Linked DNA regions of Homo sapiens: region 2 is linked to region 1. Evidence: promoter capture Hi-C in human tissues and cell types (Jung and others, 2019). All regions are on one chromosome and are shown on one strand. Each heading gives the region's core, a stretch centred on a gene start or on the middle of the fragment in contact. The rest is flanking DNA. Distances are from core to core; before and after follow the strand shown.

What was found. Contacts are between HindIII fragments. The study calls those that stand out against the background at their distance.
Region 2: a fragment that was not itself captured here is called in contact with the fragment with the promoter of LPIN3 in region 1 in 2 of the 25 tissues and cell types used here (dorsolateral prefrontal cortex and hippocampus).

Annotation. Positions count from the first base shown.
Region 1 is chr20:41,337,308-41,342,643 of GRCh38, reverse strand. It overlaps LPIN3 (lipin 3), which reads right to left and starts at 1,823. Exons shown (of 20, transcript NM_022896.3): 1 at 1,642-1,823. RefSeq lists a silencer at 1,842-2,001 and an enhancer at 2,162-2,211. The HindIII fragment of the contact is 17,326 bases long and covers 1-5,336 here.
Region 2 is chr20:41,207,622-41,212,820 of GRCh38, reverse strand. All of the region lies in intron 2 of ZHX3 (zinc fingers and homeoboxes 3), which reads left to right. Among named protein-coding and RNA genes, the nearest start is that of MIR6871, 41 kb to the right of the region's middle. The HindIII fragment of the contact is 5,390 bases long and covers 1-5,053 here.

The sequences.
Region 1 (5,336 bases), core at 574-3,073:
GGGCCTTCTGTGAGCCCGCCTCTGTCTTCACCTATCCCTTAGGCACCCCCTTTTCCCAGGACCCAGCTCTACCTCCTTGTTCTTTTCCAGACAGAGGAGAGCTCTGCTTGGCTCCCCTCTATCACCCTCCACCCACAAACTAACATGTCTAAAATCAGCCACTTCACTCCTCACACCTTCCCAGGAAGCCGAATACCCCTTAGGACTAGTCACTACCCCTCTCTCCCTCCCTAGCCCTCTGAATCTTCTCCCCCAATTTCCTGCTCATCCAGCCCCTCCTTTCTCCAGCTGTCCTAGGTTAAGACTTTATAACCAGATGCCCAGATCACGGGTGGCCACAGGACATTAGGAGAAAAGGCACCAGATTATCTGGGTGCTGATCCCCACTCCGCCATTTGCTAGCTGTGACCATGGGCAAGTGACTTCATCTCTCTGACCCTCAGTCTCAGCCTCCAAAATGGGAATAACATCAGGCACGTGTGAGTAACTAATGACTTTGTGTAAAGCCCTGGAATGCAATAAAAACCTGTATGTACACCTATCAGCAGCAGCATCATGACAGCCCCACTCATGCAGGCTGGTCCTGTGGGCACTGCAGGTCATACTCTGATGAACTGCCCCTGCCAGCAGTTGAGAGTTTGGACTTCTTTTATTTATTTATTTTTTTGAGATGGAGTCTTGCCCTGTCACCCAGACTGGAGTGCGGTGGCATGATTTTGGCTCACTGCAAGCTCCGCCTGCTGGGTTCAAGCAATTCTCCTGCCTCAGCCTCCCGAGTAGCTGGGACTACAGGCGTGTGCCACCACACCCGGCTAATTTTTTGTATTTTTAGTGGAGACGGGGTTTCACCGTGTTAGGATGGTCTCGATCTCCTGACCTCATGATCCACCCGCCTCAGTCTCCAAAGTGCTGGGATTACAGGCGTGAGCCACCGCGCCCAGCGGAGTTTGGACTTCTTAACTTGGCACTCAAGGCCATGCACAATGGTGGCACCACTATTTGCAAAACGAGCATGTGCACTCCACGTAGGCCTCACACCCCACCTTGGGGATGTTCACAGGCCTTCCAGGCTAGACTACAACTCTAGCACAGGGAAGCCAGAGCAAGCTGCCCTAGGACTAGGCTCTCAGCCCTCGGGGCTCCCAGGTTTGGGTGGATGAAGGGTGTGGCTCTCCACCGAGGACCAGAGGGAGCAGGAGAGTAAGCACTCCTAGTGCCCCAGTAGAGAGAAAGCGCCACCCCAGCCCCCAGCAGCTACAGCATCTGATCTGCCCAGTCTCAGGGCAAGCAGGGCAAGGGCCAGTCACTGTTTTGCAACTGAGGACACTGGGTACCAGAGAAAGTGGCTGTCCTCCTCAAGGTCACACAGTCAGGCTGGGGTAAAGCTGGGCCAGCCTCCCCTGGGAGGTTTCGACGTCTCCTCTCCAGACTCTACGTTCTGGGTGTCCAGGGGGCCTGCAGCCGCTGGGCCAGGGAAAAAGGGACAAAATGAGGCCAGTCCCTCCACCCCTGCGTCCCCATCTTACAGCTAGGGGTGGACCCAGGCCCGCGGACAGGAAGGAAGGAATGTAGGATGGCAGGACAGATGGGCAGGGCGGGAGGGGAGAGGGTCATCTCTTCTCCCCCCGAGTTGGGCCCTACCTGGGGAGCTGCCCACTGGAGCTCCTGGACTCAGAGCCGCCGCCTCTACCTACGTGCACAGGCTCCACAGGTGAGTGTCTTCGGCCCTCAGTCACTTGGCGCTTCCGGGTCCTCTAAGACAGGGTGAGAGCACGGCTCCACTCCTTCTACGATCCTAGTGCGGCCTCCACAGGCCCCAATCTGCCCAGGCTCCACTCCCTGGAAAGACCCCGCCCCTGCTCCGATCCCCGCCCAGGGCGCCCTTTGGCCTCGGAGGCGGGGGCGGGGCCAGACTTCATGCCCCGCCCACCAGACCCCGCCCCAAGTCCCTGTGCCACCGCCTGCCCCACCTCCAGAAAAGTGTGGATTTCGGAACGGGGCGGACCTAGCTCCTCCCAGATTTGCTTCCAGCTTGCTGTGTGATCTTGGGTGAATTCCTTCCTCAATTTGATCCCATTTCCTGTTTTGTCAAGGGGGAAAGCCGCCTTGCAGGATTTTAGAGATGACATGAAATGACTTTGCGCGGCTCCTGGCGCTCAAACGTCCCCTCCTGGGGGCAGCTTTTCCTGAACCCACCCGTATCTCCCAGACTGGACAGGCCCCTCGCGTCATCTGTTCGCATAGCCCACAGTTGTAATTTCATATTTGCTTGAATGACTACTTGATTAATGTATATCTCTTCATTTAAATTTGAACTCTGAGAGCAGGTCACGTACATCCTTACACTCCAGCGCTTATCAGTACCTCGCCTGACAAACAGCAGGCGCTCCATAAATGCCCGCACCTTCATTCCATCCCTGGGACGTTCTGGTCGAGCGGCAGCGGGCTCAATACTGACACTGGCCAGCAGGGGGCAGGCGGTGATCAGCCTTCTGGCCCAGCCGCGCTCCCTCCCTGTCTGCAGGCACTGCGGGAGGGGACAGGTGAGCCCAGGTGCGCCGAGGCACGCGGAAGGTGCATTTACTCTCGTGCCTTGGGCAAGGCCCGGGCCGGGAACGGCTTTTTCCTCTTGGATCTGTGGCTCGCGGCTTTCCTGGACCAAAGACCTTTCCGACGCCCTATGGCCCCTGCAAAGAAGCTGCCCTGAGAAGGGCCTGGAGATGAAGTAATTTGTTCTAAAAGAGAGAGGGCACCGAGGAAAGGCTTGGCGGAGCAGCAACGGCGACGAGCCAGGCTTAGAAACGACTGGGCGGTGAGGAGGAGAGGTAGCTGCCATTATTCTGACTCAGGGTGACAGAACCTGTTTGGAAGTGACTGGCCTCAGTTGTCCTCATTTTGGCAGAAGTCATTTAGTATCAGTCCTGATCCCAGGTAGTGTCTGGCTGCTATCTCAGAAGAGCCCTGTTGGGAGCAGAGCTATGTCAAGGTGGCCAGGAGGGCAGCGTCATACATACCATTTTCTGTAACATCAGGAAATCCCTGAAGGGAGCCCGAGAAGGAAGGAAGGAGAGGTCACAGGTTGGGGCTACAGATGCCGAAATCAATTTACCTCTTTGAGCCTCAATTTCATCGGCAAAGGTGGTGATAAAAGCTACCTTGCAGGATTCTATTGTGAGGATTTACAGGATGAATTAAATAAGTGGTTCTCAACCTTGACTGTGTGTTAGAATCACTGTGCCCTAGACGAATACTGATGCCCCGGATACTGGGAGTTTAAAAACCTCTCCAGTTGGTTGTAATGTACAAACAAGGCTGAGAACTGCTGATCCAAATTAAATGCAGAGCACAGCGCCAGGGCACACACTAGGCATTCAGGAATGTTTATCACATATTTATTTTTATTTAAAAAATTTTTGTGTCACACATTTTTAAAGATGGAGCACAAATTGTTTTCATTGTTCATTGTTAGAGGAAAAAAAGTTGATATAAAGGTTGTTGCAGAAATTGCATTTGCGGCTGGGGTGAGGTGGCTTACGCCTGCAATCCCAGCACTTTGGGAGGCAGAGGTGGGCGGATCGTCTGAGGTCAGGAGTTGGAGACCAGCCTGGCCAACACGGTGAAACCCCATCTCTGTTTTTTTGTTTTTGTTTTTGTTTTGAGATGAAGTCTCGCTCTGTCACTCAGGCTGGAGTGCAGTGGCACCATCTCTGCTCACTGCAAGCTCCACTTTCCGGGTTCACGCCATTCTCCTGCCTCAGCCTCCTGAGTAGCTGGGACTACAGGGGCCCATCCCCATGCCCAGCTAATTTTTTGTATTTTTAGTAGAGACAGGGTTTCACTGTGTTAGCCAGGATGGTCTCGATCTCCTGACCTCGTGATCCACCCACCTCAGCCTCCCAAAGTGTTGGGATTACAGGCGTTAGCCACTGCGCTCGGTCCCCCGTCTCTATTAAAAATACAAAAAAAAAAAAAATTAGCCAGGCATGGTGGTGCACAGCTGTAGTCTCAGCTACTCAGGAGGCTGAGGCAGGAGAATCACTTGAACCGAGGAGGTGGAGGTTGCAGTGAGCTGAGATGGCGCCTCTGTACTCCACCCTGGGTGACAGAGCAAGACATTGTCTCAAAAAAAAAAAAAAAGAAAAAGAAAAATTGCATTTCTGACAGGCTCGTTTCTGGAACTCTCAATCATCTGGGATTTGGTGATGAGGGTAGGAGAAGAAAGGCAGATAGAACAGCCTCTGCTAGTATGACTTGTTCTAACACTGAATGGAACTGAATAAGGCAGAGACTGTCCCACTCTAGCTTGTGGTTGACATCACCATCTCCAGGGCTTTCTCTGAGGGTGCAAGCAGCATGGACACTTGTGTTTGCCCATTTCTGGGGTTGAAGGTGGAGGCCATTTTTTCCTCTGCTTGGGTATACTCATCGGATGAGCCTATATCACTGGCAGCTGTTTGTTTCTTCATTAATCCAAGAATGCAGGTGGTACTTCCTTCTTTACAGAATTTGGTAGCTTATGTGTTTTATTGTTTTTTTGTTTTGTTTTAGACAGGGTCTGGCTCTGTCACCCAGGATGGAGTGCAGTGGCACAATCACAGCTCACTGCACCCTTGACCTCCTGGGCTCAAGCAATTCTCCTACTTCAGCCTCTCGAGGAGCTGGGACCACAGGCATGCATGATCACACCTGGCTTTTTTTTTTTTTTTTTTTTTTTTTTAGAGACAGAGTCTCGCTCTGTTGCCCAGGCTGGAGTGTAGTGGCACAATCTCGGCTTATTGCAACCTCCGCCTCCCAGGTTCAAGCGATTATTTGCTTCAGCCTCATGAGTAGCTGGGATTACAGGTGCCTGCCACCATGCCTGGCTAATTTTTGTATTTTTAGGAGAGATAGAGTTTTGCCATCTTAGCCAGGCTGGTCTTGAACTCTTGACCTCATGATCCACCCGCCTGGGCCTCCCAAAGTGCTGGTATTACAGGCGTGAGCCACGGTGCCCAGCCACATCTAGCTAATTTTTAAAAATTTTTTGTAGGGATGGGTGTCTCACTATGTCACCCAGGCTGGTCCCGAACTCCTGGGCTCAAGCAATCCTCTTGTCTCTGCCTCTCAAAGTCCTGGGATGAGTCATTCCATTCACCCTATGTGCTTTGTTAATTTACAGACCCAGTGGTTAGTGACTGTGCCCCTCTACTTTCTTGCTGGGTGAACCTGGCATGAGGTGAGAGGGCCCCCTTACCCAGGCCTGTAGTTGTGATCACTCAGAGCAGCAATACTGGCTTCTGGGAGCAGCTCATCAATCACTCCTGGTGGCTTTGTTGAAGGTGGGAAGGGAGGCAGTG
Region 2 (5,199 bases), core at 1,109-3,608, 130 kb after region 1:
TTTGTTTTTGGTTTTTTTTTTTTGAGACACAGTTTAGCTCTTGTTGCCCAGGCTGGAGTACAATGGCATGATCTTGGCTCACTGCAACCTCCGCCTCCCAGGTTCAAGCAATTCTCCTGCCTCAGCCTCCTGAGTAGCTGGGATTACAGTCATGCACCAACATGCCTGGCTAATTTAGCATTTTTAGTAGAGATGGGGTTTCTCCATGTTGGTCAGGCTGATCTTGAACTCCTGACCTCTGGTGATCCGCCCGCCTTGGCCTCCCAAAGTGCTAGGATTACAGGTGTGAGCCACTGCGCCCGGCCAAATTGCTGGATCTTATGGCAACTCTATATTTAACATTTTGTTTGCCAAACAGTTTTCCAAAGTGGCTATACCATTTTACATTTTCATCAGCAATACGTGAGGGCTCCAGTTTCTCTGCATCCTCATCTATACTTGTTATCTGTCGCTGTAATTACAGCCATCTTGGTGGGTGTGAAGTGGTATCTCATTGTGGTTTTGATTTGTGTTTTCCTAATAACTAATGATGTTGAGCAGTTTTTTATGTGCTTTACTGGCCATTTGTATATCTTCTTTGGAGAAGTGTCTATTCAAATCCTTTACCCGTTTAAAAATTATCTTTCTATGGTTGAGTTGTAAGTTATTTATATAATCTGGATATACTTTACCAGATAGATGATTTGCAAACCTTTTCTTTCTGTGGATTGTCTATCTTTTCACTTTCTTGATGGTGACCTTTGAAGAATGCAAGTTTTTAATTTTGATGACATCCAATTTATCTGTTTTTTCTTTTGTCGTTTGTGCTTTCAGATATTCTACTTGATGTCTTCCATAACTTGTCTGAAAATCTGATTTGCTCACTGGGTCCATAACTGTATTATTTTTAGTTTCCCTGATTTGGGATCATAAAGCACTTGATTTAAAATGTTTGCCAATGATATATACAAAGGAGCTTAGAAATGTTGATGCTCTTTGAGATGGTAAGCCCATTCCTGTGCACTTAACCTCAGGAAATAATTTGATAGAAGAAAAACATCCTGTATGCCCAGAGATGTTTGTTTCACTGTCACCCATGAGATTGGCATGCTTTTCAACAGCAGGGGTGGATAAGTCAAATTCATTGTGGTACATTATTAGGTAGCTATTAAATGTTAAACTTATGAAGCTTGTGTAACAAAAAGGTTTATAACGTAATGTTTGGTGAAAAAAGCACAAATGTGTGCTCATTGTGATAAAAATATGAATAAAATATCTGGACTAAATGAGAAGGTATACCAAATTATAGACATTAAATTTATTTAAATTACATTTTATCTTTATAATTAAAAATTAAGTAAAAAAGTGTGCATGCCAGTTCAAATTGGTGGGGGAAGGGGTGAGAAGTTGTTAGAGTGGGTTTATGTTTACCCTCACCTTCAAAGTTTTAAAAATTATTTTCATCATAAAATAGCCGTGTTTATTTACTGAGAATTTGAATAGAGATATTTTAATTTTCTTTACATCTTTGTATCAAATCCAAATACTGATAACTTGATTTTAGTATTAGAATTACTATTGTTTTAGTCATTAGAGCATTATGATTTGCTAAAACGAAAAGTAATAATGATGATTATCATTCTATATTAGTAATAGGGCTCACAGAATCCCTTTTCTCATGGCATCCTGTGAAACAATTATTATTATTATTTCTTTTTGAGTTATCAACTGTTTAATTTCGGTCTTTTATATATAAAACCATTGGTTTTGTTTTCAGGTTAGTTTTCTGCCTTAGCTGTTTTCTTTCTTAGCATTTTAAAAGTGTGAAGTCAATCTATTTTATTAAAAGTTCAATACATCTAAATTCACAGGTAAGGGATGTTATGTAATGTCTGGATAGTGTAATGATTATTTGTTTCTGGTTTCCTCTTCTTTCTTCTTTCCTTTCTTTTAAAAAAATACTTAAAAGCATATGTGAAGATTACTTATAATTCTTTTTTAAATTATACTTTAAGTTTTAGGGTACATGTGCACAACATGCAGGTTTGTTACATAGGTATACATGTGCCATGTTGGTGTGCTGCACTCGTTAACTTGTCATTTACATTAGGTATATCTCCTAATGCTGTCCCTCTCCCCACCCCACGACAGGCCGTGGTGTGTGATGTTCCCCACCCTGTGTCCAAGTATTCTCATTGTTCAGTTCCCACCTATGAGTGAGAACATGTGGTGTTTGGTTTTCTGTCCTTGTGATAGTTTGCTCAGAATGATGGTTTCTAGCTTCATCCATGTCCCTACAAAGGACATGAACTCATCATTTTTTATGGCTGCATAGTATTCCATGGTGTATATGTGCCACATTTTCTTAATCCAGTCTATCATTGATGGACATTTGGGTTGGTTCCAAGTCTTTGCTATTGTGAATAGTGCCGCAATAAACATACGTGTGCATGTGTCTTTATAGCAGCATGATTTATAATCCTTTGGGTATATGCCCAGTAATGGGATGGCTGGGTCAAATGGTATTTCTAGTTCTAGATCCTTGACGAATGGCCACACTGTCTTCCACAATGGTTGAACTAGTTTACAGTCCCACCAACAGTGTAAAAGTGTTCCTATTTCTCCACATCCTCTCCAGCACCTGTTGTTTCCTGACATTTTAATGGTCGCCATTCTAACTGGTGTGAGATGGTATCTCATTGTGATTTTGATTTGCATTTCTCTGATGGCCAGTGATGATGAGCATTTTTTCATGTGTCTTTTGGCTGCATAAATGTCTTCTTTTGAGAAGTGTCTGTTCATATCCTTTGTGCACTTGTTGATGGGGTTCTTTGATGTTTTTCTTGTAAATTTGTTTAAGTGCTTTGTAGATTCTGGATATTAGCCCTTTGTCAGATGGGTAGATTGCAAAAATTTTCTCCCATTCTGTAGGTTGCCTGTTCACTCTGATGGTGGTTTCTTTCGCTTTGCAGAAGCTCTTTAGTTTAATTAGATCCCATTTGTCAATTTTGTCTTTTGTTGCCATTGCTTTTGGTGTTTTAGACATGAAGTCCTTGCCCATGCCTATGTCCTGAATGGTATTGCCTAGGTTTTCTCCTAGGGTTTTTATGGTTTTAGGTCTAACATTTAAGTCTTTAATCCATCTCGAATTAATTTTTGTATAAGGTGTAAGGAAGGGATCCAGTTTCAGCTTTCTGCATATGGCTAGCCAGTTTTCCCAGCACCATTTATTAAATAGGGAATCCTTTCCCCATTTCTTGTTTTTGTCAAGTTTGTCAAAGATCACATGGTTGTAGATGTGTGGTATTATTTCCGAGGGCTCTGTTCTGTTCCATTGGTCTACATCTCTGTTTTGGTACCAGTACCATGCTGTTTTGGTTACTGTAGCCTTGTAGTATAGTATAGTTTGAAGTCAAGTAGCATGATGCCTCCAAGTTTGTTCTTTTGACTTAGGATAGTCTTGGCAATGTGGGCTCTTTTTTTGTTCCATATGACCTTTAAAGTAGTTTTTTCCAATTCTGTGAAGAAAGTCATTGGTAGCTTGATGGGGATGGCATTGAATCTATAAATTACCTTGGGCAGTATGGCCATTTTCACAATATTGATTCTTCCTATCCATGAGCATGGAATGTTCTTCCATTTGTTTGTGTCCTCTTATTTCGTTGAGCACTGGTTTGTAGTTCTCCTTGAAGAGGTCCTTCACATCCCTTGTAAGTTGGATTCCTAGGTATTTTATTCTCTTTGAAGCAATCGTGAATGGGAGTTCACTCATGATTTGGCTCTCTGTTTGTCTGTTATTGGTGTATTGGAATGCTTGTGATTTTTGCACATTGATTTTGTATCCTGAGACTTTGCTGAAGTTGCTTATCAGCTTAAGGAGATTTTAGGCTGAGACGATGGGGTTTTCTAAATATACAATCATGTCATCTGCAAACAGGGACAATTTGACTTGCTCTTTTCCTAATCGAATAACCTTTATTTCTTTCTCCTGCCTGATTGCCCTGGCCAGAACTTCCAACACTATGTTAATAGGAGTGGTGAGAGAGGGCATCCCTGTCTTGTGCCAGTTTTCAAAGGGAATGCTTCCAGTTTTTGCCCATTCAGTATGATATTGGCTGTGGGTTTGTCATAAATAGCTCTTATTATTTTGAGATACGTCCCATCAATACCTAATTTATTGAGAGTTTTTAGCATGAAGGGCTGTTGAATTTTGTCAAAGGCCTTTTCTGCATCTATTGAGATAATCATGTGGTTTTTGTCTTTGGTTCTGTTTATATGATGGATTACATTTATTGATTTGCATATGTTGAACCAGCCTTGCATCCCAGGTATGAAGCCAACTTGGTCGTGGTAGATAAGCTTTTTGATGTGCTGCTGGATTCGATTTGCCAGTATTTTATTGAGGATTTTTGCATCGATGTTCATCAGGGATATTGGTCTAAAATTCTCTTTTTTTGTTGTGTCTCTGCCAGGCTTTGGTATCAGGACGATGTTGGCCTCATAAAATGAATTAGGGAGGATTCCCTCTTTTTCTGTGGATTGGAATAGTTTCAGAAGGAATAGTACCAGCTCCTCTTTGTACCTGTGGTAGATTCAGCTGTGGATCTGTCTGGTCCTGGACTTCTTTTGGTTGGTAGGCTATTGATTATTGCCTTAATTTCAGAACCTGTTATTGGTGTATTCAGGGATTCAACTTCTTCCTGGTTTAGTCTTGGGAGGGTGTATGTGTCCAGGAATTTATCCATTTCTTCTAGATTTTCTAGTTTATTTGCGTAGAGGTATTTATAGTATTCTCTAATGGTAGTTTGTATTTCTATGGGATCGGTGGTGATATCCCCTTTATTGTTTGTTATTGTGTCTATTTGATTCTTCTCTCTTTTCTTCTTTATTAGTCTTGCTAGCTGTCTATCAATTTTGATGTTTTCAAAAAACCAGCTCCTGGATTCATTGATTTTTTGAAGGGTTTTTTGTGTCTCTATCTCCTTCAGTTCTGCTCTGATCTTAGTTATTTCTTGCCTTCTGCTAGCTTTTGAATGTGTTTGTTCTTGCTTCTCTAGTTCTTTTAATTGTGATGTTAGGGTGTCAATTTTAGATATTTCCTGCTTTCTCTTGTGGGCATTTAGTGCTATAAATTTCCCTCTACACACTGCTTTAAATGTGTCCCAGAGATTCTGGTATGTTGTGTCTTTGTTCTCATTGGTTTCAAAGAACATCTTTCTT